Linked DNA regions of Homo sapiens: region 2 is linked to region 1. Evidence: promoter capture Hi-C in human tissues and cell types (Jung and others, 2019). All regions are on one chromosome and are shown on one strand. The core of a region is centred on a gene start or on the middle of the fragment in contact, and the rest is flanking DNA. Distances in the headings are between cores, read along the strand shown.

Region 1 (5,903 bases), core at 1,335-3,834:
CATTTGGAGACCTAGCGATCTTAATGGAAGTGAGAAGGTAGATGGAATCAATATGTATTATAATCAGTAGCTGTGGTCCTATTTGCTCCCCACCCCTCAAGTTGGGCCAGGGGAAGTGAAGGTTATATTCCTCTTCTGAGTCCTTGGGAACAGAAATCCTAACATGAATGAAGGTGACCAATCTTGGAATTGATGCTATTGACAGAGGAGAATAGAGAGCCAAAAAGTGCACTCTGCAAGGTTGATATTACTCACGGTATAACCATGACATAGACATTCCTAAGAAAACAAATGAAAAAGCAGTAGAACAGATCATAAACTTCCCCGTGCAGCGTTTTTATAATAATAATAATAATAATTATTATTATTATTAGCATATTCTTTCATTTTTATTTTGTTTTAGGGCTATAGTCAGATGACATACCAAGACCACAATGAGTGCCAGTAGGCAGGCTCCAGCCCTGTGCCAGCCAAGCATTTTGGTGATTAATGTTCTTGGCTCTGAGGAAATAGCACTCTTTCTCTAAATTCAGATTTTTTTTTGGCATAAAACTTTGGAAACTAGGTTTAAAATTCTCCATAATGACCATCTTGTCTATTCTCAGGCTAGTCATAGAATTCATAGCTAATCTAAGATTAATTTTAAAACCAGGGAGAAACAGTAGAGGTCATCCACTCCGAGCCTTTTTTTCTTTCATCTTTCATCCTTCTTTCCTTCCTTCCTCCATCCCTCCCTTCCTTCCTTTCTTCTTTCTAATGAATTCACTAATATATTTTATTTTAAATTGCACTTTGATTATAAAAGTAGTATATATTAATACTTAAAATTTGGAAACAGAAAATTTAAACTAAATGCCTCACAATCTTCCACCCAAAGACAAATACTGTCATCTACAGACTGTCCCCGACTTAGGAGGGTTTAAGATTTTTCACGATATGATTGTGTGAAAGTGACCCACATTCAGTAGAAACCATACTTCAGTACAGAAATCAATACATTACATGGGATACATAGCACTTTCTTATAAAATAGGATTTGTGTTACATGATTTTGTCCAACTGTAGGCTAATATAAGTCTTCTGAACATATTTAAGGTGGGTGAGCCTAAGCTATGATGTGCAGTAGGTTAAGGTGTATCAAATGCATTTTTGACTTGCCATATTTTCAAATTATGATGGGTTTATCAGGATGTAACTCCATGGTAATTGGAGGGGAACCTATGTTTTTATATTCATTATAAGAATTGATACGACTCTCTTTTTTGTTCTTTCCCCAAATCTGACCTCTTCACCATGAGACAATGCTCCTAAACTGTTGATTAGACACAGGGCTATTCACTCTCTGGGGGAAGGGGTCAGGAAGACCTACCCCAAAGAGCTTGGGAAATTGACATGTCAGAATATACCTCCATTATTTTTAAATGGGAAAATTGAACTCCAGTCATTTGCCAAAAGGCAATGACTCTATCAGGACTCCTCCAATGTAATAGCTAATTGCTTCAAAATTCACTGTGCTCCTTTTCAAGTGTGAAGTCCAGGGAATGGACAGGATGCTGTAGTCCAGAAATGGACAGAAGATGTCATATGGTAAGATGTCAGAAAGATCTTCACGATTTTCTCTTTCGATGTGTTATGTCTCATCACACACAAAGTGTGAAAACACTTCCTAAATTAGACAAGTAACAATTTATATCAAGAAAAATATTGTCTTATCCTATAAAATGAATAAGTGGCAGGTAAGTATGGTTCAATATGTGTCTACTGATATTAATAATGTCCAGTTGAGTTGAAATATGTAGGAAAGTCTTTGAGGGAAGGAAATACTTTCCTGACTCTAAATGGCCTTTTGCTTGTCATATTTACTTGGATGTCCAACAGAGATTAACTCTTTATGTGGATGTGATGGTAGATTTCACTTTTAAATCAAACAATTAGCAAAAAAAAAAAAAAAAAAAAAAAAAACCATACAGGAATGGAGGCAAAAGCTTCCAAAGTCCAAACAAATGCCATGTAAACATTCCATGATCTACTTTTACTTTTAGATGGTAGATCATGTGTTGAGAATTTACATGAGTTAGCATCAGAAAGTATCACAAGCCCATTGTACACCATCTTTCCCAAGTTTCACAATACGTGGGAAATTAACATTTGGGTTGCCATTTTTTAAATTAAAAGTATGATGGCTTTTTGCTGACCCAGATGATCCCTTGTCTACTTTCATCAAAGGCACAGTGTGAGAGAGTAGAGATTTTACTATATTGTCTATTTCTCCAAAAAGGCCTCACCTAGCACTGGCCTTCTCATCAGGATGGGTTAGCTCCTTGCTAAATGTTAACTGCGGACCAGCAGAATCGACATCAGCTTCATCAGAGGAGCTTGTAAGAAATGCAGAACCTCATGGCACACTCCAGACTTATTGAATCAGAATCTACATTTTAACACGTTCTCCATGTGATTTATACGAACATTAATGTTTGAGAAGCACTGGGTTAATTGACGATTAAGAAATATAGTGCATCTGTTTGCCCTACTCTCCATCTGTTGCCCAACACACACACACACACACACACACACACACACACACACACATGCACACACACACTCTTTGGGTTTAAAATTAAAGAGCAGACTGGTCAAAATCATGCAAAATCATGAATTTGCAGGATTTAACTGCTGAATGCAATACTAAAAATCATGTAGTCACAACCCTTCAAATGGCAGAGATTAGTAAACATCTCCCACTATTCATTCTCCCCTTCTGCCCTGTAGTAATAGAACTCTCCAAGGTTTATCTGAGCACACCACACAACAAGACAGTGCATTTCCCTAGCTCCTTTACAGCTAAGAATCGCCATGCTATTAAATTTGAATCAATGAGATATGAGCACAAGAGACACATTCAACTTCCAGTCAGTTCCTCAGCAAAGTAGCAGCTTTTCACAAGCTTTCCTTTTTCTGATGGCTGGGAAGCAGCAACAGCTACAGTAGATACCTTGGGCTCAGAGATAGAAGTCACACACTGAGAATAACAGAGCTACTAGCCATCCCAGGTCAATAGATGACCTTCTGTAACAGAGCAGCCCAACTATCCCAGAATGCCAGATCAGCCTGGGACATGGAAGGGAAATTAAGCTCTCTCTCATCCTACCCATTGAAGTCACTGTGATTTTAAGTCTCTTGATGGCAGCTTAGCCTTTGTGCTCTGATTGATTACTTCACAAGTGAGGAACTGAGGCCCAGAAACTGTATGACTTATGGTGAAAATATCACTTACGAATGTAAAAATAAGCCAGTGGAAAATATTTAAAGATTTTTAGGCCAGGCATTGTGACTTACACCTATAATCCCAGCACTTTGGGAGGCCAAAGAAGAAGGATGACTTGGGGCCAGAAGTTCAAGTCTAGCCTAGGCAACATGGCAAGACCCCCCTCCATTGCTACAAAAAATAACAAATTAGCCAGGCATGGTGGTGCATGCCTGTACTCCCAGCTACTTGGGAGGCCAAGGCAGGAGGATTGCTTGAGCCCAGGAGGTCAAAGCTGAAGTGAACTATGATCACACCACTACACTCCAGCCTGGGTAACAGAACAAGAACTTGCCTCAAATAAATAAATAAATAAAATTAAAGATTTTTAAAAATGTATACTCAATTTTATAATGAAGACATTTTAAATGTTTTGAGGCCAGATGTGATAGAACACTGGCTTTCCTGACTAAGCTTCTTGGCTTGGAGGTTTTCTCTTAGCTACCTCTGAGGGATATGCATACTTGTTTATCACACAGCAGCTACTTGGATGAATGAATAAATAAAAGGATAAAGTGAACTCTGTTTTTACTAAACCACCAGGTTAAAAAAATTTTTTTGGCTTCTGCTTATTTTGAAGAATGTAATCTTAAAGTGCATCTTAAGTTGACCACTTGACCCATCTGCCACCATGAAACAAAGCGACAACCAATAAAGGGTTTCAAATAGGCACAGTTTTCATAGTTTTTTGAGTTTTCCTTTCGAGTAGATACATGGGTGGGTGGGGGGAGTAGTTATAGATCTATGTGTTTGCATTGGGTTAGGACTAGAGTTCAGCGTTATTTTTTTCCTCTTTGGTTTGTGGTCATGCCTTAATAGTCATTAAACCAAAGTCATAAAGACGGTTGAAGATACAGGACACGGTATTGCCAACATGAGGATAGTTTATTGGCTCCATGGTTCAGTCACTTTTGAATTCAGATAATGTTTGACCAGCAGACTTCTTAACAGATTTTCTAGAATCCTATTTCTATCATTACAAGTTAAATTGTCACTTTGCTATACAAAGATCCACACCTAGTCACCCAGTTATATTTATCCAATGATAAAAAAACAAAACGCGACTATATGAGATCATTTTAAAATAAAAAAGTAATGAAACACTAAACAATCACTCCAGGTTGTCTGTAACCATAATAATTCATCATAAGGTTGCCCCACAAGGAAGGATTGCATGCATAGACGTTTAAGCAATATGTAGACTTATAACTTTTATTTTTCTGTTTGCTAATAGTGCCTATAACTGAAACAATGAATTATAATATTGACAGGGACTCAATGAATCCAATACAAAGTTGTCTAAAACTATCAAAATGATATAAATTTAATGTAAACAGAACCACTTAAAATATTTTAAACACATGATAAAAGTCTGTAAACAATTCATATCTCTAGTTTAATTTTTGCATTAATAAGTCATATTCCCAAATCCAATTAAAGTCTCCTGTTTACAGAGTGGTTCTCAATCTTGGCTGCGTATTAAAATTATCCAGGGAGTGTTAAAGATCCCAAAGTTTAGGCCAAACTCAAGAAATTCCATCAGGATCTCTAGGGGGTGGGACCTCAACATCAGTATTTTCACCTTTGGTTGTAGTAGGGATGTTGATTGGGTCAACAGGTGTAAACTATTAACCAAGGGTGACAGATGTTCATTCAGAATAAAGGGACACCAGATGTTCACCAGGCATTGCTTTCCAAGAGCTATTATTTTCCATCTGAAACACATTTGCCTTCATCAGCTCTTTCATGTCTCTTTCACCAAAGTCACCAAGAGGATTTAGTGCACTCGAAGTAGAGGGACTTTTTTTTTTTTTTTTTTTTTTTTGAGGGCTTTTCTGAAAAGCTAAGCCTGAGAGAAATGAATAGTTTCTTATCCTCTACATAGAACTCCCATTTAGCTCATTGACCTGCAGAAAGGTTTTAAAATAGCCAGGTGATGTTTTAAGCGGGTGCCTTGTATCCTATGTTAGTCTTCCCAAATGACCAATCCAATCCAGCAGGTTTTCCCATTTCTCCTTGAGCTCAGACATTTTATCCCTAATCTGTCAGCACAGGAAATTGTGAGCAGGTATTTTATTTCATGCAAGAGCCAGGAAAAACACAGAGGTGGTGTAGCTCACTGCTTTGAATATGTGTTCAGTGGGACTGGAAAATTTTCCCTAAAACAAAATTGTTCTATCTCTGGTGAGCAAGGCTACCCCACACTGAGGACCAAAGATAGCATCCGATCCTCAATATGCTTCTGTGTGAAAATGAAAATGAGCAATATTTTTAGTAAAATTAGTAAAAAGTACATGCAATATAGCTTCTAAATATAACATCATCCACATAGCTGTTCAACTGCTTTGTTTAGTTTTCTCAGTCATACATGGCAGAGCAAACTACAAAACATCATTTTCCTTGACATGCCCATCCAGAACCAATTGTTTAAAACTGGATGTTTAAATTTGGGCATTTAGAATTATTAAATCACCAGGAGCTGAACTGTAGTGAATTGTAAAGAAAGGTAAGAACGTGGCTAATCAAAGTCCTCTTCAATTCAATAGGTATTTGCTGACAACCTAATATATACCAGGCATGTGTGTGGAATGAAAGGGTT
Region 2 (5,530 bases), core at 947-3,446, 1.3 Mb after region 1:
AATTCAGAATTCTATCAGATAAATTTAACAAAGAAGCTGAAATAATTTAAAAGAAGCAGAAATTCTAGGGTCAAAAAATATAATTGACATGCTGAAGAATGCATCAGAGTTTCTTAATAGCAGAATAGTTTTCTTTTCTTTTTTTTTTTTTGAGACAGGTTCCTACTTTTTTGTCCAGGCTAGGGTACAGTGGTGCGATCATAGCTCACTGTAACCTCAAACTCCTGGGCTCCAGTGATGTTCCCACTTCAGCCTCCCAAGTAGTGGGACTAGAGATGTGCGCCACCATGCCCAGCTAATATTGTATTATTATTATTATTATTATTTGGTAGAGATGGGGTCTTGCTATGTTGCCAGTGCTGGACTTGAACTCCTGGCCTCAACTGATTCTCCCATCTTGGCCTCCCAAAGTGCTGAAATTACAGGTATGAGCCACCATTCTCAGTCTCTTTTTTTTTTTTTTTTTTTTTGAGATGGAGTCTCACTCTGTCACCCAGGCCAGAGTGGAGTGGTGCGATCTCAGCTCACTGCAACCTCCACCTCCTGGATTCAAGCGATTCTCCTGCCTCAGCCTCCTGAGTAGCTGGGACTACAGGCGCGCACCACCACACCCGGCTAATTTTTGTATTTTTAGCAGAGACGGCATTTCACCATATTGGCCAGGGTGATCTTGATCTCTTGACCTCGTGATCCCCCCGCCTTGACCTCCCAAAGTGCTGGGATTACAAGCGCAAGCCACAGTGCCTGGCCAGAAGGGTGAACATTAGAGACTGACAACCCCACGTGCTGGAAAGCATGTGAAACAAGTGGAACTCTTATATGTGGCTGGTGGGAATTGTAAAATGGTACAACCACTTTGGAAAACTGCTTGGCAATTCCTTACAAAGTTAGACATGGGTGACGGCACCCGCCTATAGTCCCAGCTATTCAAGAGGCCAAGGCTGCAATGAGCTATGATTGTGCCACTGCTCTCTAGCCTGGGGGACGGAGAGACCCTGCTTCTAAAAAAAAAAAAAAATTTTAAGTTAAACATACCCAGAATGACCCAGAAATTCCACTCCTGTATTTCCTCAAGATAAATAAAATATGCCCACAAGGACTTGTACGAGAATGGTTATAGCAACTTTGCTCATCATCACCAAAAATTGAAAGCAATACAAATCCATCAACTGGTGAATGCATAAAGTATTCAATGGAATGCCTCTCAATAACAAACACTACTAACTTCTGGTTCACGCAGACCCAAAAGAGTACCTATCACCTTCATTTTTATAGTGCTAGAAATAAGAGGAGTGGTTGCTGATGTGGTGGGAGATGGACAGGAAAGAAACAGGCCACTCTTCTGAGTGATGGAAATGCTCTACGTCCTGATTGGGTGGTAGTTACACAGCTGTTTACATTTACCAAACTCATCAAATTGTCCACTGGGGGGGAAAAACTATTATTTTCACTGTATACGAAAACTTCGCCTCAACAAAAAATGAACTAAAAAAGAAAAAAAAGGGGAGGGGGGCTGGCGACGTTGAAAAGTAACGCTAAACTATGTAAGGATTTGATAATTGGGGTAAGCCTTTTCTTTAAAACGTCTAGTAAAGAAAACATTCCAAGAAGGTCTGCTAGATTCTGTGACTAAACAAGGACATTAAAAAGCCCTGAATCCAGCTTGGTCAACGTAGTGAGGCCCTGTCTCTACGGAATTTTTTTAAAGTTAGCCAGGCGTAGTGGTGCGCGCCTATAGTCCCAGCTACTCGGGAGGCTGAGGTGGGAGGATGGTTTGAACACAGCAGCTCAAGGCTGCAGTGAGCAGTGGTCGGTGCCCACTATACTCCAGCCTAAGGGACAGAGACCTTGTCTCAAAAAAAAGAAAAAAGAAAAAAAAAAAAAGCCTTGCGAGCTCTGGGGGAGATTTCCCGCAGCCCAGCTTTGCCAGGGACCCAGCCTCACCCCTCGGGCTCCACCGCCCACTCCCGCCCTTCACCTGACGTGAGCGCCCCGACTGCTCCACTCCTTCTCATCCCGCGTCGCGGTCCCGCCTATTTTCCCTCTCTCACCCATCTTTTGAACTGGCCCTTCACCTTTCAATCAATTCAAATATCGCACGGAGCAAACCAATCGCAAGCCTCGTTGAGTGGAAGGGGTGGGATCTTCCCCGGAAGTGTTGGTTAAAGCCCCTCCAATCAGCGGCTCGGTGCGGCAAGTTTGAATTTCGTGGAGGCTCGGGTTGTGAGGGTTCCTGCTTCGGAGTCGGCGGTGGTCGTCCAGACCGAGTGTTCTTTACTTTTTGTTTGGTTGAGGTTTCACGCTAGAAGGTGGCTCAGGTAGGTGGGTGCTGGAGAGCTGGACGGAGAACACTGGCCCGCTTCCGTTGAAGGTCTAGAAGGGTCTGAGGACCGGGGGCTGCGAGCGGGAGCAAGTCAGAGGCAGGCTCCTTTAGGACCGTGTTACCTGCCCTTCCCGAAGCTGATAATGCGAGCCTTTAGAAGAGTCCATATGTTTGCCCTGACCTCTGTAATAGTCAGCGTTTCACCACCGGGGCGTAATTGACCTTTGGGGTGAAACTGTTCTTCACTAGCTCCGACATTAAATTCCCGTAGCTCTTCCCAGGTCCCATGGCAACTAAAAACGCCCGGTTGAGAACCTCTAGTCAAGCAAGATTAACGCATTCTGGACTTTCAAGCTGGAGGAAACGCCACTCAGCCAAACAAAATTTAGGTGTGTGTGGAGCCAGGGCTGCCTTGCTTGGGATCCCAGCTTCACCACCTTTTAGATATGCTAATGTGAGCAGTTAATTGACCTCATCTGTATGAGAGCGATAATAGTTAACTACCTTTCAGGGTTATTCTGATAATTGTACCTTTAATGTTGTCCTCGCTCGCTCTTTCTCTTGCTGTGGATAGTGCTATCCTGTATTTAATACATAAGTCTTAATTTTTCTTCAATCTTTAGCGAATTAATATTGCAGGAGATAAATAGTAGAAGACAGTTCTTTATGAAAAGCACAGTCCATTGTCACTTTCCTTGGGTCTTAGAGGAGAATGTTATTAGCATGCAGGTCAGACAGATTCTCGTTTTTTATATTTTGTTGATTGCTTAGAATCATGTAACAATGTATTGCATTACTTGTGCCAATTTTTCTATTATCTGGAGTTTTCTAGTGGATTTAGTTAATTCTTGTTGAAGAATATACCATAGTGTGTCTATCACAGAGCCTCCCCCTTACCTTTTTTTGTTTTTGTTTTTTAACTGCCAAGACTTCTGAGAATCAGTATCCTTTCTCCAGTTTGGCTTGGTAGTTCTCTATACCAGCTACACAGGTGACCCCCTCAAACTTTCTAATTTTCTTTGTTCTCCCTAGTTGGATCTACTGACGTCGTCTTTATTGTCCTCTTTTGTTTTGCTTGAATACATTCTCAAAGATCTTTCCAAGAAAAAGGCATGTGCCAATTAAACTATATGATTTTGTGCGTGTGTGTGTGTGTGTGTGTGTGTGTATGGCTTTTCTTTTTTAAAATTTATAGAGACGGGGTCGTGTTATGTTGCCCAGGCTGGTCTCAAACTCCTGGGCTCAAGCAGTCCTGCCTCGACCTCCCAAAGTGGTAGGATTACAGGCCTAAGCCACCGTGCCGGCCTAAACTGTATGATTTCTTGTATGGATGAAAATAATGGAGCAAACTGATAGGGTTATTGTGAACTATATATTTGGTCTTGTTCTGTTTTCTGGCAAACAACTACTAAAATCCTTGGAGTCTTCAAAGTGGTACCTTTTTGTATGCTAATGATTGACTGATAGCTGGATGCCTCTAAATAGCTTCAGGATTGGGGCTGGTCACTAGACAGACCAAGGCAGGATTTCTCGAGAGTTGGCATTTTCAGCCCCACCTCACAACCTCTGGGGAGGGGAGAGGAGCTGAAGGTTGACTTGATCACCAGTGGTCAATGATTTAATCACTCATGCTTATGTAATGAAGCTGCCATAAAAACCAAAAAAAAACACCTGTGTTTGGAGAGCTTCTTAGGTGAATACATGAAGGTTCCTAAACAGTGGTGCTACCTGAGAGAGCATGGAAGCTCCTTGTTCCTTTCCACATACTTTGCCCTGTGCCTCTCTATCCAACTCTATCTGTATCCGGTTGCCTATTGATTATCCCTATATGACTAATAGGTACCTGGTGTGGGGTTTTTGTTTGTTTTTGGTTTTCTTTTGGCTTTAGAAGAAATGTTAGACTACCTGCATTCCTCATCATGGGTAAGGAAACCCTTGTGTACATGGTCCTTCACTTAACCTATTTTCACCTTTATTTCACGCTTTTCTTTTTGCAGTGTTCTCTGTGGTAAGCCCAGAGCCTCTTTTATTCTGGACTATCACTTACTGGCTTTCTCTTCACTGGTCAAGCAAGTTCCTATTTAAAACCCCCAAATAGGTAGCTTCTTATTCTCTGATAATCTTCTTCTCACTTTTCAGTGTTACATATTTATTTCATTGCACATTTTATATTTTTATTTCAGAAGGCCCTGAAGTGGGACAGGAAATGAACTGTAATCTTAATTTTTTAAATAATGAAAATTCATGTAAGTTGGGTTTTGTCCTTTTCCTTGACAGGATGTCTTCATCACATTTTGCCAGTCGACACAGGAAGGATATAAGTACTGAAATGATTAGAACTAAAATTGCTCATAGGAAATCACTGTCTCAGAAAGAAAATAGACATAAGGAATACGAACGAAATAGACACTTTGGTTTGAAAGATGTAAACATTCCAACCTTGGAAGGTAGAATTCTTGTTGAATTAGATGAGACATCTCAAGGGCTTGTTCCAGAAAAGACCAATGTTAAGCCAAGTAAGTAAAGGTCTGTTGTAATTTTAAGTACTTTGAAGAGTGAATAATAGTTGGTTTAATGCCTGTGTGAGTAAAAAACTCTGGCCAGAAGAGTTTTGAAATACCATTCTATAAATAACTTTCCTTTTTGGTCTTTTTCCTTTTTTTTTTTTTTTTTTTTTTAAATTACAAGAGACAGGGTCTCACTGTGTCACCCAGGCGGGAGTGCAGTGGTGTGCTCACTGTAACCTCAAATTCCTGGGCTCAAGGAATTATCTTGCCTCAGCCTCCCAAAGTGTGGGGATTACAGGTGTGAGCCACCGCGCCTGGCCCCTTAATAACCTGTTATCTACAACTAACTACTGTCTTTAAGGCAAAAGCCTTTACCTGTGGAGTATTATAACACTTTATTATCTATATTGCTTCATAGAAATCCTAAAGTTCTTACGGAGCTTGGGTAGGATAAGTGTTGACAAGATAAATTGATAAGAAATGTAAAAATAGAATAATTAAAGAATCCATGAAATGAGAGTACTTTGTCAATGGAAACATTAGTAAGAAAAGAGCAAAGAATTCATCCTTGCAGTTTGCCCAGAAGGATTGGGACCATTAGGATGGAAAGAACCAACTAAAGAAGAAAGGAATAATCTCAGAAAAAGATGAAAATAGAGCATCTTAGAAGGCAAAGGATGCTACAGAAAAGAGAAAGCAA

Evidence for each region. The method cuts DNA at HindIII sites, captures the fragments that hold promoters and counts their contacts. A contact is called where the count stands out against the background at its distance.
Region 2: a contact is called between the fragment with the promoter of DLGAP5 here and a fragment that was not itself captured in region 1, in 1 of the 25 tissues and cell types used here (mesenchymal stem cells).

What each region holds. Positions count from the first base shown.
Region 1 is chr14:56,476,360-56,482,262 of GRCh38, reverse strand. No RefSeq gene overlaps it. Among named protein-coding and RNA genes, the nearest start is that of TMEM260, 100 kb to the left of the region's middle. The HindIII fragment of the contact is 5,960 bases long and covers 1-5,564 here.
Region 2 is chr14:55,188,251-55,193,780 of GRCh38, reverse strand. It overlaps DLGAP5 (DLG associated protein 5), which reads left to right and starts at 2,196. Exons shown (of 19, transcript NM_014750.5): 1 at 2,196-2,318; 2 at 4,601-4,839. The coding sequence starts at 4,602. LOC105370508 (a long non-coding RNA gene) reads right to left here and starts at 2,108. Exons shown (of 2, transcript XR_943888.3): 1 at 1,979-2,108. RefSeq lists enhancers at 1,900-2,452, 2,453-3,006. The HindIII fragment of the contact is 18,393 bases long and covers 1-5,530 here.